3 separate regions of the Homo sapiens genome follow, and regions 1 and 2 are each linked to region 3. The links are contacts of gene promoters, found by promoter capture Hi-C in human tissues and cell types (Jung and others, 2019). All regions are on one chromosome and are shown on one strand. The core of a region is centred on a gene start or on the middle of the fragment in contact, and the rest is flanking DNA. Distances in the headings are between cores, read along the strand shown.

What was found. The method cuts DNA at HindIII sites, captures the fragments that hold promoters and counts their contacts. A contact is called where the count stands out against the background at its distance.
Region 1: a fragment that was not itself captured here is called in contact with the fragment with the promoter of GLRX in region 3 in 1 of the 25 tissues and cell types used here (dorsolateral prefrontal cortex).
Region 2: a fragment that was not itself captured here is called in contact with the fragment with the promoter of GLRX in region 3 in 1 of the 25 tissues and cell types used here (thymus).

What each region holds. Positions count from the first base shown.
Region 1 is chr5:96,313,316-96,317,564 of GRCh38, forward strand. All of the region lies in intron 2 of LOC101929710 (a long non-coding RNA gene), which reads left to right. It also overlaps a transcript of CAST not described here. Among named protein-coding and RNA genes, the nearest start is that of PCSK1, 120 kb to the right of the region's middle. The HindIII fragment of the contact is 4,889 bases long and covers 169-4,249 here.
Region 2 is chr5:96,237,140-96,241,380 of GRCh38, forward strand. All of the region lies in intron 1 of LOC101929710 (a long non-coding RNA gene), which reads left to right. It also overlaps a transcript of CAST not described here. Among named protein-coding and RNA genes, the nearest start is that of MIR583, 160 kb to the left of the region's middle. The HindIII fragment of the contact is 5,381 bases long and covers 1-4,241 here.
Region 3 is chr5:95,819,576-95,824,010 of GRCh38, forward strand. GLRX (glutaredoxin) reads right to left here and starts at 3,151. Exons shown (of 3, transcript NM_001118890.2): 1 at 2,881-3,151. The coding sequence starts at 3,087. RefSeq lists enhancers at 1,523-1,662, 3,579-3,668, 3,899-4,399. The HindIII fragment of the contact is 9,845 bases long and covers 1-4,435 here.

The DNA.
Region 1 (4,249 bases), core at 1,363-3,862, 490 kb after region 3:
TGACCCTTTGTAGGAGTCAATCTGCCTCCTCCACTTCCAGACACTGGCAACCACTGATCAGATTTGTGTCTCATAGTTTTTTTCTTTTCCAAATATCATATAAATTGAATCATTCAATATGTATTCTTCTGAGTCTGGCTTCTTCCACTTAGCATAATGCTTCTTAGATTCATCCATGCTGTTGTGTGTATCAGTAGTTCTTTTTATTGCTATATAGATATAACAATTTATTCACCAGTTGATAGACATTTTGGGTTGTTTCCAACTTTAAGCATTTATGAATAAGATTACTTAAACATCCATATGCAGGTTTTTATGTGGACATAGGCTTTTAGTTCTCCAGGGTAAATACCTTCATGTAACCTTCACTTTATAAACTGCCAAACATTTTCCCAATGTGGAAATCCCACCAGCAATATATAAACATTCAAGTTGGTTTGCATTCTCTTCAGCATTTGGCACTGTCAGATTTTTTTTTTAATTTTGAGCCATTCCAATAGGTGTGTCATGATACCTCATTTTGTCTTTCAAGTTTTAATAATTAGGTTTATAAAATCAGTTATGAAAAACATCAAATAATTGAAGGTGTATCAGACATCAAAAAGATGTTTCTGCTGTTTTGTTATCATTGAGTCTTGGCTCTTCACCATGTTTTCCTGTCCATTTTGGACCACTGAACTATCATTAATCCTAAATTACAAGTATGCAGTACCCAAATATACATGGCTTCTGTATGCATAGGAACCTGCTTTCTAGCTTGTTTGGGACCTTGCTATCATAGGATTTCTAATGGAATTGTTAGAAGAGTTTTTGCTCATTTCTTCACACAGTGGGTCAGAGAAATATTTTGCTGATTATCTCTAAAACTGAAAACTTGTAAATTATTTTCTGTAATTTTCCAAGCCAGTCTCATGTAGAAAATTGACTTTTGCCATAGTGAGAGGAGAATTAAAGTTGTGGGAGCTACAGCACCAATTTTCTTTTCATCCTTGCTGAAGTTGGGCATCTTTCCTGTTGCCTTTATTTTGATTATTTGTTGGGCCTTGTGATCACTTGCTTTTGTTAGGCTTCCTCTTGCTGTTGCTAAATGTTGGGATGAATTAGGAACCTCATCCTTTCTATGTATTTGTAGCATAGGTGAAGCTGAGCAAATGGGGCTCCAGTGCCTCTTCTCCAGCTTTGACTAGACCAAGAGCCTTCTCTGCTACACAAACATGGCAGGATCCTTCATGACTGTTCATTTGTACAAGTTTGTTTATTTGTTTTTGTTTTCTGCTGAGAATGACTTTGGCTTCCTTTTCTGCCTGGGTAATTCTTACTTGTTCTTCAAGATCAGACCAAATATTACCTCCTTTATGATGTCAAATTCCCTAAGCCTTTTAAGTCATACCTGCTGAACCCTTTTCTTGTTTTAAGTCCTATTACGTTGCTCTGTGATAACCTGTTCACATTTCTGTATCCTTCCTAGACGCTGAACTCCTCCCAGTCAAGAAGCACATGCTGATCGTTACTGACTTAACATAAAGTACACACTCAATAAATACTTTTGACTGACCCTTTAAATTTGCAATATAGCTACATTTAAATGCAGAGGTTTTCTTTAACTTCAAAAAGGAATGATAGAAGCATTTGCTAAACAAGAAAGTTTATTTAGTAGAAGCCATTTATATATTAATATATTTAGGCAAAGTGGTGATCATAAGATTTGATTGATCTCAGGACTGGATTCCTCTCACCCTCACGCAATCAGTGTGATTATAAACCACATGTTATGGGAAAGAAAAGTCAAAGAATTAAAATAATTCTGTGACTCTTGTCTCCATTGTTAAACTGTGATACGGGTATAAGTAATTGCTTTAATCATGTCAGCAAAATATTAGGACTGTGGGATTAAACAATTGTTTAGTATAAGTATGTCCCATGCAATATTTGAGACATTCTTATAATAATAAAAAAGTTTGTTGTTTATCTGAAGTTCAAGTTTAACTACATACACCTTCTTTTATATGACAACCGTAGCCAAAGGGAAACCTCTGCACTTCACAGAGTGGAAGGACTGATAGGGAATACAGACAGTGCTCTTGGAAGCCAGTTCAGAAATGTATAGTGAACAATGTGAGGCCATGATTCCTTAGACTGGTCAGTATATGTCAACTCAGCAGCATGATCATCTTTGCCAGGGTAGAGAGCAAGACCAGAAACTGAGATCAGAAAGAGAAGTGGGAGTGGTGAAGTCACTGACCATATGGTCATTTGGGTCAAAGATGGCACCATTTAAAGGTCTGTAACTATGGTAGATTAAAGATAGCCACAAATTCTTTGCTACTATTTTTGGTAGAGGTCTATTGCCTTCCCTTTGAATGTGGATGGGCTCTGTAACTGCTTTGACCAATGGAATAATAGCAGAAGTGACACTGTGCCAGTTTTCTGAGCCCAGGCCCTAAATATCTGTAGGTTTTCACTTTCTGTTTCTTAGAACACTATTTTTGAGATCTCTGAGCCTCCATATAAGAAGTCCAGCTTTCCTGAGATGGCCATGCTGGAGTAGTCACATGTAGGCACTTTGGGTTGACAGATCCAGCTGAGCCCAGACTTCCTGCTGTCACCATCAAGTGACATGAGAGAGAAGCTGTTGTGGACCATTCAGACCACCTAAGGGTTGAGTACCCCCAAGTGAACTCCTTCAAGCCACGCAGAGAAAAACAAAACCCACCCAGCTGAGCCTGAGCCTTCTCTGAATTTCTGACCCATGACATCTGGAGATATAATTAAATGCTTGTCTGTTTAAGCTGCCAATTTTTGTATGGCTTTGTAACATAGTAATAGGTAACCAGAATAGTGAATATAAACAGAAGTTTCCCTGACCACATGGTGACTTAAGAAAGAAGTACTTGCCATCATTTTAGTATGTAAACTTCTCCATTTGCTTGTTTGCCAAGAAAATCTTGCTTAGAAAGAAATCTTACCTAGAATGCAATATATAATAGAGCTCAAAGTCAAGCTGCCTGAGCTGAAGCATAGCTAGGAGTCCAGAGTCACATCTTCTCTGTCCTCTTGTCCTAAACTCCCCAGATGCCAGGAGATGTTCTGTAGCCCAGCTGAGAAAGATTGTGAGGTATGTCTGAGACCTAATCTAAGAGGCAGGGGAACCACAATAAGATGTGCAAACCTGGGACTAGATGCAGAGAATGTTACCATGGGAAGCACGGCAAAACTGTCAGCATCAGATAAAGCCCTGCTTAAATGTGCAGAGGAGATCAAAAAGTCAGGTTGAAAGCACCAACAGCTGAACATGTTGTAACAAAGAAACTTTCTAAAGGTAGAGGGGAACCGTGAGAGAATGCAGCCAGAATCTGAGAACCCCCACAGAGAGTGTCATCAGGAATCCCAAAGGATAATGATGCAAGAAGAGGACTCTGACCTAAGCCACCCAGGGCCAAAAGACTATACTAATTCCTTTGAGAGGAAAGATGAAATAAGACCACACCTGGGTTATATATGCTGTAATTACTGATATTTATCTAACTTAATTGCCAAGTAAATCTGTTTCTAGTTTTACTCTGGCTCTTCTCAAATTAAGTCTTTTGTTTTCCGAATATTACACATAAGATCTCTGTGTAGATAATGTTGAATGGAATGTTGAACTGGGAATGGTTGGCCTTAAAAGATTATCTAGTTATGTTCTTGGTACCTAAAGAGAGACTAGGTTTGAGTGAGCAAGGCCTCTGTATAAAAGATACTAGTTAGATAACATACACCGAAGGAGATACTTGTCCAGCTTGAACATTACCACACACATTTGACATTTCAGAAAACTACTGGTTTATTTAAAGCAAGTCACACGTACATTATAAAGGTGTCATCCTGGCCAGGTGTGGTGGCTCATGCCTGTAATCCTAGCACTTTGGGAGGCCAAGGCAGGTGGATCACTTGAGCCCAGGAGTTTGAGACCAGCCTGGGCAACATGGTGAAACTGTGTCTGTACCAAAAATACAAAAAAAAAAAAAAAAAATTAGCTGGGCATGGTGGTGCACTCCTGTAGTCCCAACTACTAGGGAGGCTGAGGCAGGAGAATCGCTTGAGCCCAGGAGGCAGAGGTTGCAGTGAGCTGAGATCATGCCACTGCATTCAAGCCTGGGCAACAGAGTGAGACTCCATCTCAAAAAAAAAAAAAAAAAAAAAAAAAGAATGGTGTCATCCTATTTTAGAATGAAAACCTTAAAACCTAGCATATTTTGTTCTGTATATA
Region 2 (4,241 bases), core at 766-3,265, 420 kb after region 3:
CAGAAACCAAAATGGATTCAGGTCTGTCCACAGTGGGGTTTCATATCTTTGTGTTATGGGCTTAGGTGGCCCTAAAGAGGCTAATTCTGCAAGGAGAGAGAAGTATGGCCTGAGAGGAGGGTTCTGGAATGGTGAGCTACCCTAGAACCTTTGTATTGGTGTTAGTATCATGTGATTTGTCTCTGCTAGAATTTTGCTTATATAAGTCTTATTCAAATGTGAGTTTAGCCTTTTTTGGGGGGAGTAGGGGTAATATCTGTGTTCTACTTTTGTCTGATATGGGAATTAGGGATTTATTAGTTTCTAAAAATGGTGTCTAAAAGTTGCACGTTTTTCTAGCCTGTAGAAGCGATTATTAATCGTTTGAAAATCACCAATTACTTGGAAAGTTTCTATAATTTGTATATAAAACTAAAGGGGCCTGGAACCATATTCTGGAAATAATCTTTGCCAAAGCTTTACATTGTTTTTGTCATCATTATCTATTCAGTTTGTCTATATCTTCTTAATTTGATTTTGGAAATTTGTATTTTTTTCTATAAACATGTAATTTCTATTGAGACTTTAAGTATATTTTCATAGAATTATATGTACATATTTTTAACAATTAAAAAAATCTACTCTCAATCTGTTAATTTTTCTACTTACGCATTCCTAATTTTTCCTAAAGCTTATTTTTGTCCAAAGAATTTCTCATGGTTTTGTTTTTGATTCTGTCCTTTTCCAATTCCTAATTTATTAAAACAGATTTTAACTTTTAATTCCTTCTTTTTGCTTCCTTTGGGTTTACTTTATCCTCTAATTTATAAAAATTGTATGTTTAGTTAATATTATTATTTGTTGATTAAATAATGAAAGATTATATGAATGTTACCAAAAACATTATTAGTCATCTCTCATAATTAAACAAAATGAAATACAATGTTATTTTTTCAGATGATCTTCAGAAAAATAGAAACAAGAAAATAAAGAACACTCATAATTTAACTACTAAATTTAATACATTTTAACCTTTGAGACATTCTTTTAGGTTGTTCTCTTTCCTCTGTTCTCTTTTTCTTTCTATACATATTTTTAAAAAATGACATCACACTATATTTAGGCAATTTTATATTTCTTTCCCTTTTAGATAATATTTTAATGTCAGAAAATGCAAATCTGTTTCTTCTTCTTCTTCTTCTTCTTCTTCTTCTTCTTCTTCTTCTTCATCTTCATCTTCTTCTTCTCCTTCTTCTCCTTCTTCTCCTTCTTCTTCTTCTTTTTTTTAGACGGAGTTTTTGCTCTGTTGCCCAGGCTGGAGTGCAATGGTACCATCTGAGCTCACTGCAACCTCTGCCTCCCAGGTTCAAGTGATTCTCCTGCCTCAGCCTCCTGAGTAGCTGAGATTATAGGCACCTGCCACCACACCTGGCTAATTTTTTTTTTTTTTTTTGTATTTTTAGTAGAGATGGTGTTTCACCACGTTGGCCAGGCTGGTCTCGAACCTCTGACCTCAAATGCTCTGCCTGCCTTGGCCTGCCAAAGTGCTGGGATTACAGGCGTGAGCCACCGCGCCCAGCCTATATCTTCATTTTTAATAGCTGCATAGTTTTCTACAGCCTGGCTATACTATAATTTATTTAAACTACCCACTATTGAAGAATATTAAAGTGTTTCCTGTTTCTATGTTAGTATCTTTACTATATAATGAGAGCTAAATAATTAATAAAGTAGAAACCAACAATATGTTGGATTGAAAATGATTGTACATACCTCCTTAATCAGCAAACTTATTTCTTTTGTGTGGGTTTCTAGACATAGAATTGTTTGGGAGTCATTGGGTATAGGTATATTAAATTTTCATAAATTTTTCCAAACTTCCTTTCAGATTGGTTGTGTTATTTGCACTCCTACCAACTTTGGTGAGAGTGTTTACTTCATATATCCTGGCACCATTGGCTATAATTAATATAATCATTGCCAATATGATAAAACTATAATTTTTAACAACTTCATTGTTTTTAAAATTTTAATTTTTTTAATTAATGGTAAGGTTACATTTTTGATAAATGTATTGCCCAATTATGCAATGACTTATATATGTAAACATATGTAATATACTTAAGTCATTTAAATAGTACCTGGTATAAAATAAGTGCTATATAATGATTGCTGTTGTATTGTTTTATTATTAATTTTATTTTCATGTTGTAAATTGCCTGTGATTATTCTTTACTAATTTGCTATTGAGACTTATTTTTAAATTGTCTCCTGACAGGAGTTTTGAGTTCTCTTTGACCCTAGAGTTAATTAGGAGTGTGATATTTGAGGCTTTTTTGGGGGGAGTATAAACTTTATTAGATTTCTACCTTAATGTTTCTAGCTTTGCTTTTTTTCTACCTGCATGCATGTAGTACTCATTCTTCAATCCTGAAATGTTAAAATTTCAGGAGATGTGTGGTTTTTTCCACTAATCTGCCCTTAGGGAGTCTTTTTGTCCTAACGTCTTTCAATTTTCTTGTATCACATCTTTACCTATTGTTTCTATCTCATTTTCTTCTGGTATTATCTGGAATATGAATTATTAATAACATTGGATTTTTCTTTTTATCATCCCTTTATAATATTATTTCTCTCATCTTTTAAATATCTGTTCTTTTTCTCTGCATTCTGAAAGAATCTTTTAAGTATATTCTTCACATCACTAGTTTTATTTTCTATAGTGTCAATTCTATCTTTACTGCCTTCATTCTAGATACGTGTTATAATTTTGCGTCTTTTGGACTTCTTACCTGCCCTTTTCTTTTTGCTGCCTTTTACCCAGGCACACTTATATCTAATTTGTAATTTAACCTCATTTGACCTTCAATAGTATATGTTTTTATAATTTTATTGGGAACATGAAGCATAAGTTTCTAATATTTACCTCCTATTTCCTATATAGTAGGTAACTTGTAAATTTTGCTTTGTTTTTCCATCTTGAATGTAATTAATTTATTATACCATAGATTATTTTCATAATTCCATATCAATATTTTTGTCTTGCTGCTTATCATTTTTATTTGAGCAATAGATTACCTATGCTTGATATCTATCCACAAACTGGGTAGGTCAGACTTCAGCTTTCTGCTATTAAGCTTTACTACAGCTGGATTTCAATCATACTGTCAGTTCACAGATCTGTCTCCCACAGACTGAGAGGAGGAAGAAGGAAGGTACATCAGCAGAAGAATGTTGACTGTGCACAGTTTTCTCTCCATGTTTGGTGAAGCTGCTGGGCAAGCGTCCGATTTCTGGGTCCACCTTCTTTACTGTCTACTCTTAGCCAGCTTTCCTAATGCTTTATACAGTCTGCAGCTGTGTCCAGCTTCCTTCCCAGTTGAAATCTTACTGCATGTTATGGCCTCTGCAAGAATTGAGTGACTTCAAGAAATATTCATTTTTTTATTATTATTATTTTTTAGAGATAGGCTCTTGATCTGTCACCCAGGCTGGAGTGCAGTGGCATGATCATAGTTCACTGCAGCCTTGTACTCCTGGGCTCAAGCAATTGTGGTGCCTCAGCTTTCTGAGTGGCTGGGACCACAAGTGCATGTCACCTTGCCCAGCTAACTTTCTTTTTTTTTTTTTTTTTTTTTCTGATGCAGTGAGTTAACTCTAGGAATTTATTTTACTGATAATTTTACATACTTTCAAAAGGACATTTATACCAGATTATTCACTACAGAACTATTTGCTACATTAGAGGGATTGAAAACCATATAAATGTTTATTAGGAAGGAAATGGATAAAGTATACTTAATTCACATATTGAATACTATACAGCTACAATACAGAATGAAATTTATTATGTACTAATATCAGAATGTATAATATGCTACTATTTATATGATAAGCATGTATTTGTTTTATGTGCTTAAAATTTATCTGGAAGAATTTTTTTTAAATTTATTATTATTATACTTTAAGTTTTAGGGTACATGTGCACAATGTGCAGGTTAGTTACATATGTATACATGTGCCATGCTGGTGTGCTGCACCCATTAACTCGTCATTTAGCATTAGGTATATCTCCCAATGCTATCCCTCCCCCCTCCCCCCACCCCACAACAGTCCCCAGAGTGTGATGTTCCCCTTCCTATGTCCATATGTTCTCATTGTTCAATTCCCACCTATGAGTGAGAATATGCGGTGTTTGGTTTTTTGTTCTTGTGATAGTTTACTGAGAATGATGATTTCCAATTTCATCCATGTCCCTACAA
Region 3 (4,435 bases), core at 1,901-4,400:
TAGATACAGCTACTTTATAGAATAATTAAGACTGCAGGATCAGGCCGGGCGCCGTGGCTCACGCCTGTAATCCCAGCACTTTGGGAGGCTGAGGCGGGTGGATCACGAGGTCAGGAGATTGAGACCATCCTGGCTAACACAGTGAAAACCCGTCTCTACTAAACATACAAAAAATTAGCCAGGCATGGTGGCAGACGCCTGTAGTCCCAGCTACTCGAGAGGCTGAGACAGGAGAATAGCGTGAACCCGGGAGGTGGAGCTTGCAGTGAGCTGAGATTGCGCCATTGCACTCCAGCCTGGGCACAGAGGGAGACTCCGTCTCAAAAAAAAAAAAAAAAAAAAAAAAACCCTCGGGAGCTTTCAGACCCTTTGAATACAAACACTTCCCTGTTGGGGATCAAACATGCAGCTTTAAAAGGCTTGTTCTTCCCCTAGGAGGAATGCACTCAGAATTCAAGAATCTGTGAAAAACATTTTTCTAAAAATGAAAAACAGGCTTGTTGAGGTGGATCACATCTGTAATCCCAGCACTCTGGGAAGCTGAGGTGGGAGGATAGCTTGAGGCCAGGAGTTCAAGACCAGCCTGGGTAACATAACAAGACCCCCATCTGTACAAAAACTTAAAAAATTAGCTGGGTATGATGGCTCATGCCTGTAGTCCCAGCCACGGGAGGCTGAGGTGGGAGGGTCACTTAAGCCCAGGAGTTCGAGGCTGCAGTCAGCTATCATTGCACCACTGCACTCTAGCCTGGGTGACAGAGCAAGACTCTGTCTCTTAAAAAAAAAAAAAAAAAAAAAAACCTTAAAAGATTACTACAAGAAATATTGTTGTTCTACAAAGAAATGAAAAAGCAATTGTTGACCAGGTGTGGTAGCTCACACCTGCACTTTGGGAGGCTGAGGTGGGTGGATCACCTGAGGTCAGGAGTTCGAGACCAGGTTGGCCAGCATGGTGAAACCCCATCTCTAATAAAAATACAAAAATTAGCTAGGTGTGGTGGCAGGTGCCCGTAATTCCAGCTACTTGATTGCTTGAACCTGGGCGGTGGAGGTTGCAGTAAGCCAAAATCACACCACTGCACTCCAGCCTGGGCGACAAGAGCGAAATTCCATCTCAAAAAAAAAAAAAAAGCAATTGTTAAATGAACACATGAAGAGGTTTGCTTTACCTCCTGGAAAATAGATGCTGTTGGGCTGAGAACAATAATCCCAATTGTGTTGCACATTGGAATCCCCAAGGGATTTTTCCAAATAAAAATCCCAGGTGTGGTGGCTCACCCGTTTAATCCCAGCACTTTGGGAGGCCGAGGTAGGTGGATCGCCTGAGGTCAGGAGTTCGACACCAGCCTGGCCAACATGGTGAAACCCCGTCTCTACTAAAAATACAAAAATTAGCTGGGCATGGTGGTGGGCGCCTGTAATCCCAGCTACTTGGGAGGTTGAGGAGAACCCAGGAGGCAGAGGTTGCAGTGAGCCAAGATTGCACCATTGCACTCCAGCCTGGGTGACAAGAATGAAACTGTCTCAAAACAAACGAACAAACAAAACTAATGCTTGGCTCCCACCTCTGACATTGTGATTTAGTTATTGAGGGGCATAATTTGGGCATAAGGATTGTTTTAAAAGCTCTCTAGGTGATCCTAATGTGCAGCAAAGTTTGGGAACCAATGGCTAAAAGGTCCTCAGGGTGGCAGCCACAGTGGGGCCCGTAGTAGTGTTTGCACTGCCCTTTACACCTCTCAGGGCCTGGGCATCCTATGCAGCTGGTGGTCCCACTAGGCAGCAAGAGCTTCTCTCGTCATTGTGTATACTCCAGGACCTCAGCACACAGCAGTAGGATAACACACTAAGCCCCCTTTCTGCACCAAAATGCTGACTTCTTATTAGAGAGAAGGGGAGAGAAACAACCTCCAATGCTTTATACTCAGAACCCAGAGACAACCTTGTAAGTCAAACTAAAACTGAAATAGGATATGTGCTTGGCCTAACACTGTGCTGTAGAATTCGTGCATCGTAAAAGAGAACTTAGCTGAGCTGGTGGGACATTTCTCATCCCACCTCACAGCAGAACTGATACAGGTGATGTGGCTGGCATCCCTCCTGAAGCCCAGGACGCAAAGCCAAGGATGCTGAAGAGAGGGAAGTCTTTCGGATGGAGGAGAGCAATTTTTAGAGGGTCCCACAGTCTATTCGTAGCAAATGGGACTCTGAGGTCACCTAATCTGGTCTTGCAGCTGGGATCTTTGAGGACTACTGGGGTGGTGACTTGCCCAGGATCACACAGCCAGCCATTATAAGAGCCAGGCCAGAACTCCAGGCTATGATTCCCTACAATGTGGGGCCTGGAAACATCCATAATTAATTTAGAACAAGGGGCAGATAACGGTACATTAGATTTTTCCAGTGGGAGGAATTAGATAAGGAAGAATGAGCAAATTAGAAAAAGAAAGCCTAGAGAAAAGAATGAAGAACATGAATCTCATGTTAAATAACAAACACATCACACCCGGCCCTCCACCCCAGCTTCCACCTCCAGCCCTGCCAACTGAAAACTGTCATTTCCTGGCAGTGCTTAAAACAAAGACTCTAGATAATTCCCCAGGGACTCACCGGCAAGCTGCTGGTCCCACTTACCCTGCCGCACAGCAGACATCAGCTGTACTCCCTCTTCTGCCCCGTGAAGACCTTTGGCTGCAGTGCCGCCGCTCATTCAAGTGACCGAGATCCTCTCTAAGGCGCCCTCCCCCACACCCCCCGCCCCGCACAGCCCTCTGGACGCCTTGAAGTACGGAGCCGCAGCCTTATCCTAAAGAAAGGCACAGCTCTGACAAGAAAAGGCAATCCGGGAGCCTTTCCCTAGCCGTTTAAAATGAAACTCACCGTTCTTGCTCCCGTGAGCTGTTGCAAATAATCTTGAATCTCGTTAGTGTGGTTGGTGGCTGTGATATCGACAAATTCCAGAAGCCCTTGTTTGATGGGCAATTGACTGAGGATCTCTTGGGCCCTCCTGCAGTACGGGCAGGTGGGCTTGATGAACACAACCACCTTCCCAGGCTGGATTTTGCAGTTCACAAACTCTTGAGCCATGCCGATGGGCTGCGGTCTCCCCGGGAAGAATCCTCAGTTGCAGGTATTGCTTGGGGTATTGAGCCCCGACCCAGCCAGTTGGCTCCTATTTAATAAGGAACCTCCCTGGAGGCGGAGTTTGCCTGGTAGCTTGCTCGAGTTTTAAAGGGACAGCTTCGAAGACATTTCCATCTGGTATACTTCACTAGTTAGCAATGCCCAGGAATGCAATACTTGCTATTTAATCATTGGTAGCTATGAAAGACACTCTGGGTATCTTTGTTGTCCTTGGACATTTGGGGAGTGCCTGCCCATTGGCAATGATCAGAGTTTAGTCACCTCTGGGGAAGCATAAAGTGCTTACTCACAAAGGGGCTGAGGAGGCAGTGACTTCTTAGAGCAAATTCTTGTTTTCCCTCTAGGAGATACAGTTGTATTTTAAAATGCAAACAGAATCACTTAAGAAACAGAACACTTGGAAATCTCTTTAGAAGAAGTGAAATTGAAACTGTGACTTTGCACTCCTCATGAAGGTTGCTCTCACAGCATTTTGCTTGGACTGTATGGTGGGTGTTTGTTGTTGTGATCTTTTTAATGGAATTCATTCTCAGTATTTAAAAATCTGGAGGTCTCACAAAACAATTCGGACTTAAAACTTCTCTCTGAAAAGTCAGGTCGGGCAATACAGAGCTTGCACCTTTTAGTGGAAGCTGCTGGGGCTGACAGCTGTTGCCCCCTTTGTATAGGGCAAGTAGTGGCTTTGGTTTGCCACAGGTCCCAACGACAGGCCCATGCCTGAGACACCGGCTTCACCCCATAACCATTTGAGTTGGTAACCCTTGAACAGCAGTTTAATATGGAGGCAAATTCCAACACAATCCTTGATACAAAACTACAGATGAAATGAGAATCTTTTTTTCTGGTTGAGCCTATGTTTGTGACCCTCTGCTTTTAACTGTTTGTGAGGGGAAGTAGTGTTGTAACTCAGACACCACATTCACTTCAAGTGTTATAAGACACGGGTTGTAACAGTAGGAAATCTTTCGCTCTTCCCCAGGGTGCCCATTCTCCTTATCCCGCAAAGCAAAGTCCTCTACTCCTGGGTCTAGTTCCGGCCCCCTCTAGTGTATGGTAGCTTAAATAAACAAATCAAGGAAAAACTATGTCCTTTAAACGTGAATCATCCTTTCCCCAGGAAGTTTTATGGTGAAACCAGAGTATCTTCAAAGAGGCGGGGCCAAGGCCAGAGCTGGACACCACGACTGCCACGTAAGAGGAATCCCAAGCATACTGCGATCAAGGGAAGGGAAGAAAATCCACTCCCAGAAGCAGCTTTTTACTGTGACTCTCATCGTTACTAGAATTAAAA